Regions from separate parts of the Homo sapiens genome. Here region 1 is linked to region 2. Evidence: promoter capture Hi-C in human tissues and cell types (Jung and others, 2019). All regions are on one chromosome and are shown on one strand. The core of a region is centred on a gene start or on the middle of the fragment in contact, and the rest is flanking DNA. Distances in the headings are between cores, read along the strand shown. Region 1 has its middle 150 kb from the start of LINC01807. Region 2 holds the start of DNER (delta/notch like EGF repeat containing).

Region 1 (5,512 bases), core at 1,180-3,679, 1.3 Mb after region 2:
TGTATGATGAACACCATTGCTATTGTAAGAAATGATTTTTAAAGGGGCTGATGGAAACTAGAAAGATGAGTAAGAGTATGGTTATTAATTGGTAGTTAGTAATACTTTCGTTGGTTACGGGCCTGGAACAGTATTGACCAGTTGGGAAGAAAAGCTAGCATTGGAATTTCCAAAATTTGGGGGCCTCTGGTAATACCTTGTGGATCAGAGTCATTTGATGGCAGACATCAGTGGAATGTAGGGATTTTGGATTACATCGAAGGGACCTACTGTGAATGCATGACTAACTTTGGCAGTCCCAATATTGGAGTCCAGATGTTTATGATTTTGATTGCTCTAACTTACCTAACAGTAGTAATTCAACATCCTGAAATTTTCATCTAGATCTTTTTCACTGGGCCTAAAAAAAAAAACCACAGAACCAGAGGCAGCTTCTATTTGCTGCTCCCCAGCCCCCAACTTAATTCCCACTTATCTTTCATCCAGCTTTCTCACTTACCAACTCCTGCTCAAAAGCTCACATGGAGAAGCCAAACTAACCACTGCACAGTTTCAAAAGGCTCATGTGTGTACCAAGGCTACTACCTCTGGATGTTGCCAATTTAGAATCCTTGTGATGCCAATGCAACATGAGGGCCCAGGAATCAAGAGGTGGAAGTGGAAGTGGCACCACTCACCATCACCCCTCATGATCCACTAGCGACATTTTTGCTTCCTGTTCCTGCAACATTACGTTCTGCTGGCCTAGAGGTCTTAGTCCCAGAGGGAGGAATGCTGCAACGAGAAGACACAACAATTCCATTAAACTGGAAGTTAAGATTGCCACCTGGACACTTTGGGCTTCTCCTACCTTCAAGTGAACAGGCTAAGAAGGGAGTTACAGTGTTGGCTGGGGTGATTGGCATGGACTATCAAGACGAAGTAGGTCTACTAATCCACAGTGGAGGTAAGGAAGAGTATGCGTGGAATATAGGAGATCCCTTAGGACATCTCTTAGTATTACCATGTCCTGTGATTAAGGTCAAAGGGAAACTACAACAGCCCAATCCAGGTGGACTACAAATGGCCCAGACCCTTCAGAAATAAAGGTTCCAGTTACTCCACCAGACAAAAACAAAAAACAAAAACACTACCTGCTGAGGTGCTTACTCATGCCTCAGTCTCCGAAGTAGCTGGGACTACAGGCATGCTCCACCATGCTCGGCTAATTTTTTTTTTCAGTAGAGATGGGGTCTCACCATGTTGGCGAGGCTGACCCTCAGGTGACCCACCCACCTCAGCCTCCCAAAGTGCTGGAATTACAGCTATGAGCCACCACACCTGGCCACTTGACTTCATTCTTAATTTTTATTTTTAGCAAATTAAACATGAACATAGCTTAAAAATTCAAGTAGTTGAATAAGGCTTTTAATGAAAAAATCATTATCTGCCTTACTCTTCATAGCCCCAGAGATATACTCTGCAACAGTCAATAACTTCAAACTTAAATTCCAGCTGTTTGCTATGGAATGTAACTCCCTGTTTTTAAATAATCTGCCTTTAGAGTTATTATTATTTTAGAATTAAATATTGACTCAACTCTTTACTATGTAAGATTACAATTTAGGTTTTTATACCCTTACCATATATGTTATTTGGATGAGTATTTGGTTTACATTAATGACAGCAAGTTTAGTGATTCCTTGCCTCTTCTCTTTTTATATGAGGCTCTGAACTGAGAACAAGAGATGGCAGTTATCCACAGTCAAACAAGCACCTGTTCTCGAGATCTAATAGTCTTATAGGATGTCTCAGGTGGACACTGTGGTCTAAAATGTCTCATTAGAATATGGAGATACCTGTTTTACACTATTGTTCTTAGGGTGCTCTAATATTTGGGAATCTACTCTGTGTCCTTCACTCATCAGCTTTCTGCAAGGTATACAATGGGGTCCTAGGCAACAAGCAGAAGCAAGGGAGAAAGGAGACGTTGTCTCCCTACCCCCAGTCAACTGTAGATTACATCAGCATGAATAATGAGTATGAGGGGAGTCAAAGGAACTTGAAATGAGTGTGAGAAGAAAGGAGATATATGAGTATAAGTAATAATCATCATCATCATAGTAATAATAACGTTAACTTCTGTCATTGTTTTGGCTGTTTCTACATGTTGAGATGTTCTGGCCACAATATAAGGAATCAGCACGTGTTTGTAAAGTCCCTTTGCAAAAATATATAATAAGAATAATAACAAAAACAAAAATAAAATCTAGAACCAGATAATTAACAACAAATTTTGATATTGAAGATTTATTTGGATAATTCAATTACATCTGCCTGAGGAAAATAATGCAACCTTTTGAAATATCAGTAATTCAAATCTCATGTGATGAAGTAGGAAAAACAGAGATGTAACCACTAATTAAAAACTATTCCAGCCGGGTGCGGTGGCTTACGCCTGTAATCCCAGCACTTTGGGAGGCCGAGGTGGGTGAATCACGAGGACATGAGTTCAAGACCAGCCTGATCAACATGATGAAACCCCGTCTCTACTAAAAATACAAAAATTAGCCAGGTGTGGTGGCATGTGCCTGTAATCCCAGCCACTCAGGAGGCTGAGGCAGGAGAATCACTTTAACCCTGGAGGCAGAGGTAGCAGTGAGCTGAGATCATGCCACTGCACTCCAGCCCGGGTGACAGAGCCAGACTCTGTCTCAAAAAAAAAAAAAAACAAAAAAAAAAACTATTCCAGCAAGACTGTTTTGAGTTGTCCAATGGTGACAACATCATACTGTACGTTACTCAATCAGCATGAGACAGTAGGAAACCTTAGCTGACTGTCTACAGGGCATGAGGTGCAAGTGGGAACTGAAAGCACAAAATAGTCATTGAGCTTATTGGTTGTCAAGCTTTTGTGATTCTATCTGTACTACTATTAATGTTTTATCAAATGGTCACAAACTGTGTATTATTTTTATGTTATTTTCGCTATAAAAAGTAATACTTATAAAGAGTATTTTCTATATCAGATTATTAAATAATTACTGGTGGAGAAGAGATTGAAGACCAAAGTTACAAATGATTTAAAAAAAAAAAACATTTCAAAAGTGGTGAAGGGAGAGCCAAGGCAAGATGGCCTACTAGACAGAGCCAGGAAAAACATCTGCCACCAAGGGACAAGGACTTCAGGAAGACTGGTGCATCTCCCAGGAGATATTCAGAGTGAAGGCATTGAGAGTGGACAGATGGAAGATACAGACACTGGGCTGAAAGGGGAGGAAGCTGGGAACCCTGCATGAGGTGACCACGCACCGAGACTCGTTCCTGACCCCCAACAATTCTGGGGAAAGGGGTGAGTTGAGCAGGCAAGGAGTGACCTGCTCTTGCCTCAGACATCTAGAATCCTGGCAGCAGGGGAACTCATGATTCTCAGGGACACTTGAGCTGGCAGGGAAAGCTGCTTAGAGAGGTGGTAGCGGCAGTACTTCAGCCTGTGTAGAGCCCACAGAGTTTGGTGTTGGAATATTTGCAGTGGAGCACAGTCAGGGATGTTCACCCTCCAAGGCTCCCCGTGCTCCCTTAGAAGACTCTAGTCTTAGGGAAACTGTCATACCTGAACAGAGAAGGAAAATCTTGAATGTGAGATGGGGCCAGTTTGACCTGAGCACTCCCCTGTAAGCTGGCTTCTCCTGGATCCCCAGCCTGACTGTGCCTGTTTGTGGTACAGCCTCAGGTGCCCAAGTAGGGTGCCTCCTGGGGACCTGCATCATAGCTCCTATACTAGCAGACTGCACCTGACCATTTGAGAGCTCTAGCAGAGTGGTTCCCACTGACACACACAAGCCCATCCACACCCTAATCCTATGGCAACCTCCCCCATGACACTTTGCTGGCACACACTTGCCCATGCCCACCTACCCCATTGCTTTGCTGAAGCATGAGCATGTAGGTGGACCTCGCCTCCCCTTACCTGCCAGCATGTGTGTGTGCATGGATGCCAACATGCTTCTGTTGCTAGTGTGAGTACACCCCGCTCCTAGCCATACCACCATTGCCAATGTGAATGCATGCATATAGAGGTCAGCAGCCCTTCTCACCCTCTGTGCTGCCACTGCTGTGAATGCCTGCATAGAGGCCAGCAACCCTGTGCCCACCAGTGCCCCACCCCAGCCTATGAGCAAGCACCCCACCATGCTGCTGCTACTGGCACAAACAAACAAGCACAGATCCTAGTGCCACTGCCTGATGCAATGCTTTGGCTGGCCCTACTCGTTACAGTGTTGTGGCCAGCAGTCCTGGAACACATCAGCCCCTCCAATGCACAGTTTCCTAACCTTGAGGGACCAGAGAACAAAGCTCGACATCCAATACCAGTCCCCCAGAGGTACAGCATGCAACTTAGGGGTGCCAACCTGTGCCTTGGCCTCCTAAAATCCTCCACAAATGAAGCCAGTTGACTAAACCCACCTACACCACAATGAAACTTCCAAGGGCATTGAAGATTAAAGCCAAAAAATCTCGTTCAGAGGATAGCAACATCAAAGACTGAAGGAGCATGAGATCACAAAGATGAGGAATAACAAAGCAAGAACTCTGGCAACTCAAAAAGCCAGAGTGTCTTCTTACCACTAAACAACTGCACTAGTTGCCCAGACATGATCCTTAACCAGTCTGAAATAGCAGAAATAGAATTCAGAATATGAATAGGAATGAAGATCATCAAGATTCAGGAGAAAGTTGAAACCAAATTAATGTATTTTAAGGAATACAATAATATAATACAGGAGATGAAAGATGAAAAGATCATTTTTAGAATGAACTAAACTCATCTGATAGAGTTGAAAAACTCACTTCAGAAATTTCAGAATATAACTGCAAGAATTAATACCAGAATGGATCAAGCTGAGGAAAGAATCACATAGCTCAAGACTGGTTCTCTGAAATAACTCAGTCAGACAAAATAAAGTAGAATGTTTAAACTAACAAATGTTTAAAATAGCAAAACCTCTGAGAAATATGGGATTATGTAAAGACACCAAATCTATGACTCATTGGTGTCCCTGAAAGAGAAGGAGTGAAAACAAGCAACTTGGAAAACATCTCAGGAGATTGTCTATGAAAATTACCCCAACCTCTATAGAAAGGCCAATGTTTAAATTCAGGAGATGCCAAGAACTCCTGTGAAATGCTACGTGAGAAGACCATCTCCAAGACACATAGTCATTAGATTCTGCAAGAAAAAAATATTAAAGGTAACTAGAGAGAAAGATCAGGTTACCTACAAAGGGAACCTCAACAAGCTAGCAGTGAACCGTTCAGGAGAAACACTACAAGCCAGAAGAGATCAAAGGCCTATATTCAGCATTCTTAAAGAAAGGAATTTCCAACCAAGAATTTTATATCCAGCAAAATTAAGCTTTATAAGCAAGGGAGAAACACGATCTTTTTAAGACAAGCAAATGCTAAGCAAATTTGTTAGCACCTGACCTGCCTCACAAAAGGTCCTAAAAGGAGTCCTAAATATGGAAAAGAA
Region 2 (5,395 bases), core at 518-3,017:
AACAAAGGGGTTGCTCAGGCAAAAGTACAATAAACTGAAATGTGATTTTAATTAACTCACAACCTTTTTACACTTCATCTTGCTTCATTTGTGTGTGTGTCTTGATGGAAGGCAATGAAGAGCACTATCCACTAGTCCAGGATTTAAGGTAAGAGAAGTTAGTTTCAGGAAAGAACGCAACTCCAGGGGCACAGAAACCACCTGAATGACGACACTAGTACCAGCAGAGGGTGCTGGCGTGGCACAAAATTAAGAATTTTCAAGAGGAAGAGGTCTTAGATTGAAAGACAGCAGGTGTGAGGAAAAATGTAATAACTCTATCCACTTGGAGGTCTGAATTCTCCGCTTGCAGATCTGTCTGGGGTTCAGTGATTTCCTGCAATGGCCACATGAATTTTAGGTATCTCCTGAAGCAGAAAAGTGTGACATTTGCTTCTGCGTTTGAACAGGACAGGGAGAAGCCGTGCAGTTTGCCTTCTGTTTCCACTGGAGGACTTTTAGCAATCCCTGGCGTCTGTGACACCTACAGCAGAAGTTCACATGGAGTCCTTACTTTAATTTTTTTAAAAAACAAAACAAGCTATTTTTGTGTTTACTAAAAAAAAAATTGGCCCAGACTGTCAATCCAGGGGAATCACATTTTCTTTTTTCATTTGGCCACCTTAAAAAGAAGGTAACAGGTACCTGGGAACCCACAGGTAATAGAGATTGTGAAAGGTCAGGTGGAGGAGACAAGGCTGGATGCGCTTTATTCAGCGGAGTGCAGCCTCCTTGGCGGTCGCAGCACCAGCCAGCCCAGCCAGGACGTGTAGAAGAGCCCGCCCCCCCCATCCCCTCCGAAGTAGGTCACAGCGAATGCTCCTTTTATGCAGAGTCCCCTGTTGCGATTCCTGCCGCTAGCAGCGCCTCTGCCAACCTGGGCTTTTGAACTGTTCTTTCGGGCGTTCTGGGCTGGGAGTCAATTGACCCACTGGATTCGAATCCAGACTTTCTGGGCCTCAGTTTCCCCCTAGGTTCAACGACAGGGGTGGACAGCCTTACACCAAGGCCTCTTCCCGGCCTCACACGGCGCGGCCAGACGTTCCTTAGTGGTGCGGCAAGGCCCCGCGCTCTGGAAAGGGCCGGCGAGAATGAGACAGCTGGGTCAGCACCAAGGACAAGGGCCCCGGGTCCGCCTGGCGGAGGCGAGGTCACTTCCAGGCGAACCCGGCTGCTGAGCAAGCGTCGGGCGCAGGGTTCCGTGGCCGGGCGGGAGGGCTTGGGGTGCCGGGAGAAGCGCTGTGGGAAGGGGAGCAGTCCCGGGGGATGAGGCAAGGCCGGGCCCCGCGGCGGTCTCGCAGATTCTGCGCCAAGAGGCCAAAGGTGGCTGCTGCGAGCGCGCCGCCCCTCCCTTGAGGCGCCCTGCCGCCTCCCGCGCCCTGCCCTGCCCGGGCCTTGGGGCGCACTCGGTGCTCCCGGCTCTGGAAGCCCCTCAAAGCCCCGCTTCCCTCACTCGTGGACCTCTCCAGCCCCTTTCCTGCCCCAGCGTCGCCTGGCTCCCTGTACCAGGGCTGCTTCTGGACACACCCGTGACTTCGACCCACTCCTGGGGGATGGGGTCCCGCATCGTCTTCCTGCAACCCCCATCCCAACTCCCTGCGGGGAAAGAGGCCCCACTCCCCGATGCTCCAGAGCCGGGGCCGCCAGGCGCCCCGCCCCCCGCTCGCCCCGCCCCGCCCCGCCCCGCAGGCCCCGCCCGCCGTTGCCCGGGGAACCGCGGATCCCGCAGCTGCAGGAGGCGCCCGGCCCGGCGGAGCAGCCCTAGCCGCCACCGTCGCTCTCGCAGCTCTCGTCGCCACTGCCACCGCCGCCGCCGTCACTGCGTCCTGGCTCCGGCTCCCGCGCCCTCCCGGCCGGCCATGCAGCCCCGCCGCGCCCAGGCGCCCGGTGCGCAGCTGCTGCCCGCGCTGGCCCTGCTGCTGCTGCTGCTCGGAGCGGGGCCCCGAGGCAGCTCCCTGGCCAACCCGGTGCCCGCCGCGCCCCTGTCTGCGCCCGGGCCGTGCGCCGCGCAGCCCTGCCGGAATGGGGGTGTGTGCACCTCGCGCCCTGAGCCGGACCCGCAGCACCCGGCCCCCGCCGGCGAGCCTGGCTACAGCTGCACCTGCCCCGCCGGGATCTCCGGCGCCAACTGCCAGGTGAGTGGAAGCGGCGGGCGCGGTGCGGGGCGCTGGTCCGGGACCAGCAGCCTCTTCCCGCCGGCCCTGCTGCTGCTGCCCGACAATGGGCACGCCTGACACAGGCTTTCCCACTTTGGGAAGAAGATGGATCCAGTCTCTTGGCCCGCGTGGACGCGGACCCCCGGGCCGACCCTGATTCCCTTACCCGCCCTGGTTCCCGGGCGGGGCCAGCCGGGCTCTCGGGGTGTGCCGCTCCGGGGCTCGGCACTTCTCGCGCGGGGCTCTAGACGCTCCGGTTGGCCACTGAGTGGCGCGCCCCTCCAGGCCGGGCCGAGCCAAGAACCACTTGAGCGGTGCCCGCCTTGGCAGCGCGGAGGAGCCGGCTCCGAGCGTCCCCGGCGAGGTGTTCAATGTCCAGGTGGTCCACGCTCCACGTCCGGCTGGACCCTGTGTGTGTAAAGGGTGTGCGGTGTGGGAGGCAGGTGATGGTGGGCCCCGTGCCAGGTGGTGGGGCACTTTCTCCTTCTCTTCCTACGCCCTTGAGGGCTGTGACAAAGCAGCCAGAGGACGAGGAGGGCAGCTGCCTCCCCTCGGCCTGCGACCAGCCCTCTCTAAGCTTAGGAGCAGTGTTGGAACAGTCGGAGGCATTCGAGGGGGCATTGTACGTGGCGCTGGCAGGGCCGCCCTTCCTGCCGGACGCTCCACGGGGCGCACGCTTGGGGCTGGCAGCCGGGGCGTGAGCAGGGCACCGGGAAGCCGCCAGAAAGCGTGGGGGCGGTGCGAGGGATGGGACGATGGGATGTAGCCAGCAGCCGCCCGTGAATTTGGGGTTTTCAGGAGAATTTGGCAGAAAATAATATCTGGGGCTTTTACAAGTCCGTTAAAGCTCTGTGAAACCTATTAACATCAACATTTCCAGTAGGCAATTTGGTAGGACTGTGTGTACGGGTAGAAAATCCCCAAACCTGTATTGCAGGGTAGGGCAAATAATGAAGTTATCTGAAATGATTACATTAAACCACATGAATATGGACGATATTTGGGATCAGATACTATCTTCCTTACATTTAGGGTGGAGGAGTTTGTTTCATATAAATTTGATAACAATGATTGGAGAGTTACTTTGAGAATGCTCAAATAGGTTCTTTCAATGGGGAAAAAGGCTGCCCTTTCATTATGACAGGTTTTACATTTTTTAGAGGTAAATGGGATTGAGAAACTTGACCTTGACAGCCAGATTTTTTTGCATTTATCTAGAATCTTTTTATTTCATTTAATAGCAAATTAGCAAACTGAATCTATCTTTTCAACACTGTGCTCTTCCTCTTTGTTTACTGGTTACAATAAGCTTTAGTTACTTGAAGGGAGGTGATGAGGAGGAGGAAGAATTTGTGTGATGTGAGCCTCAGGAGTAGATTTGGGACATGATAGCTTCTTGGGGGAAATGCCTGTTGGAGCCATTCTAACCATTAGAACAAAATCTTGCTTTTGCAAAAGTCAAAATAACTGCAAATCAAAAACCAAGGAATGCACTCACGCTAATTTTCCCTGTGGATTGATGATTTATATGACTTTTCCTGAAGAAATGAATTGTCTGAGTGTGTCCATCAAACTGCTGTTATATTCACACGTCTGAATTTTATCCTTCAAAGAAATAGTTGATTTGGACCTAGGGTTTAGTGGGAATGGATGGGAGAAGGTAGGTTAGAGTGCCCATCGATTTACATGAGAAGAAAGACTCACTGGGAATTTAACACAACTCTGAGATGGTTTTTGGTGACTCTAAAAACAGATATAAGACATCTTCAAGAAAAAGAGCTCTTTAGTGCCACCTAAAGATGACTAACAGCGAAACATAAATATTTTGATTTGTCCTAAGTAGTGACTTGATGTATAATATAATTCATTCCGAAGAGTCAGGAACTAATACATAACATTGCAGGACCAACTGGATCAAAACAGATTCAGATTTCTTTTGTAGCTCCCATTGGAGGTAGGCTTAGCTGTGTGAACACCATCCACCTGAGCAGAAGCAATACTGCATGCCCTGGTGTGTGAGTTGGAGAGAGCGGTGAAGTTACTGTAATCCTCATAGGAAAGCTTAGTGAACTTGGAACTTGATTGGACTTGGTTACCCAGAAAAACTTACTGAGATGATTCAGGGCCTTACAATCCATAAAAATGGATTCCTGATGATTTTAATTTAATCGTTCATGATCTCGCAGTAAGACTTGAGACTCATTTTTCATGGGAACAGCAAAGAACACAAAAGACAATTTCAGAAGAGAAGTTAAACCTGGGGTGGTGGGGAGGGGAGGGGAGAGAGGGAGAGAGAAACTACACATACTCAATTACAGATAAGGAAATTGGATCTTAGCCACTGCAGACTATGTGGTTGCTGAAATAGAACCTTGTGCTCACTGGATAAATTGGAAATGGAATTTTACCTGGATGTAAAGAGGATCTTTTAACAGAGCGTCACTCCTCCTTCTCCAAAGACAATAGTGTTAGCAATGGTAACATTAGAACCTAACCTTGAAGTTTCTTTCTGTGTGTGGGGAAATTTTGAGAAAATCATAAACTACGAATTAGGATTAAAATGGCTGTCTTTAGGCTTTTTTAAAAAAGGATGTCTTTAGCTTTTCTGTGGTTGGCTGATTGAGTTTGCGTAAGTCAATGGGGTCTAGGACATGCTTCTTTTGTCACCTGAGTCATGGAAACTCCTAGGATTTGGGAATTGTAGGTCGTGTGGGTTTGAAGTCAAGCTGAAGTTAAAACTACTGGGTCTTATTTCCTCATCTTCAACGATGGGATCTATGGGACCTACCTCATGAAGATAGTGATTCCATTCCTTGATGTCTGATTGCTGCTGACAGCTTTAAAGCCTCACCTCTCCCCTTCCTCTTTTCCTCCACATCAAAACAAGCTGATAAGAAAGCCCAGGGGTTCCCTCCTTTGGTGCTGGTGGGAGGTTCAAACCATGCAAACTCCTGCCCTGTGCTACTCCAGCCCCAACCCCAAAATGCAGCAAAACCCACAAGCCAGTCTCCTTTCCCTGTTCTCAGAAGCCATTTAAACCCATTTGGGAGCTGCCTGCTCTCCCCAGAGAGCCCCATTATGTCAGCAGTAAACCTTTTTGTATCCTGTGTGTGTGTGTGTGTGTGTGTGTGTGTGTGTGTGTGCGCGTGTATGCATGCCATTTTCAGTCTCAGGGTCCAAACCAAATTTTGAGTGGGTGT

Evidence for each region. Contacts are between HindIII fragments. The study calls those that stand out against the background at their distance.
Region 1: a contact is called between a fragment that was not itself captured here and the fragment with the promoter of DNER in region 2, in 1 of the 25 tissues and cell types used here (mesenchymal stem cells).

The regions. Positions count from the first base shown.
Region 1 is chr2:228,458,703-228,464,214 of GRCh38, reverse strand. No RefSeq gene overlaps it. Among named protein-coding and RNA genes, the nearest start is that of LINC01807, 150 kb to the left of the region's middle. The HindIII fragment of the contact is 9,173 bases long and covers 1-5,512 here.
Region 2 is chr2:229,710,927-229,716,321 of GRCh38, reverse strand. It overlaps DNER (delta/notch like EGF repeat containing), which reads left to right and starts at 1,767. Exons shown (of 13, transcript NM_139072.4): 1 at 1,767-2,174. The coding sequence starts at 1,899. RefSeq lists enhancers at 311-1,084, 1,085-1,859 and silencers at 1,697-1,756, 1,827-1,936. The HindIII fragment of the contact is 6,115 bases long and covers 1-3,138 here.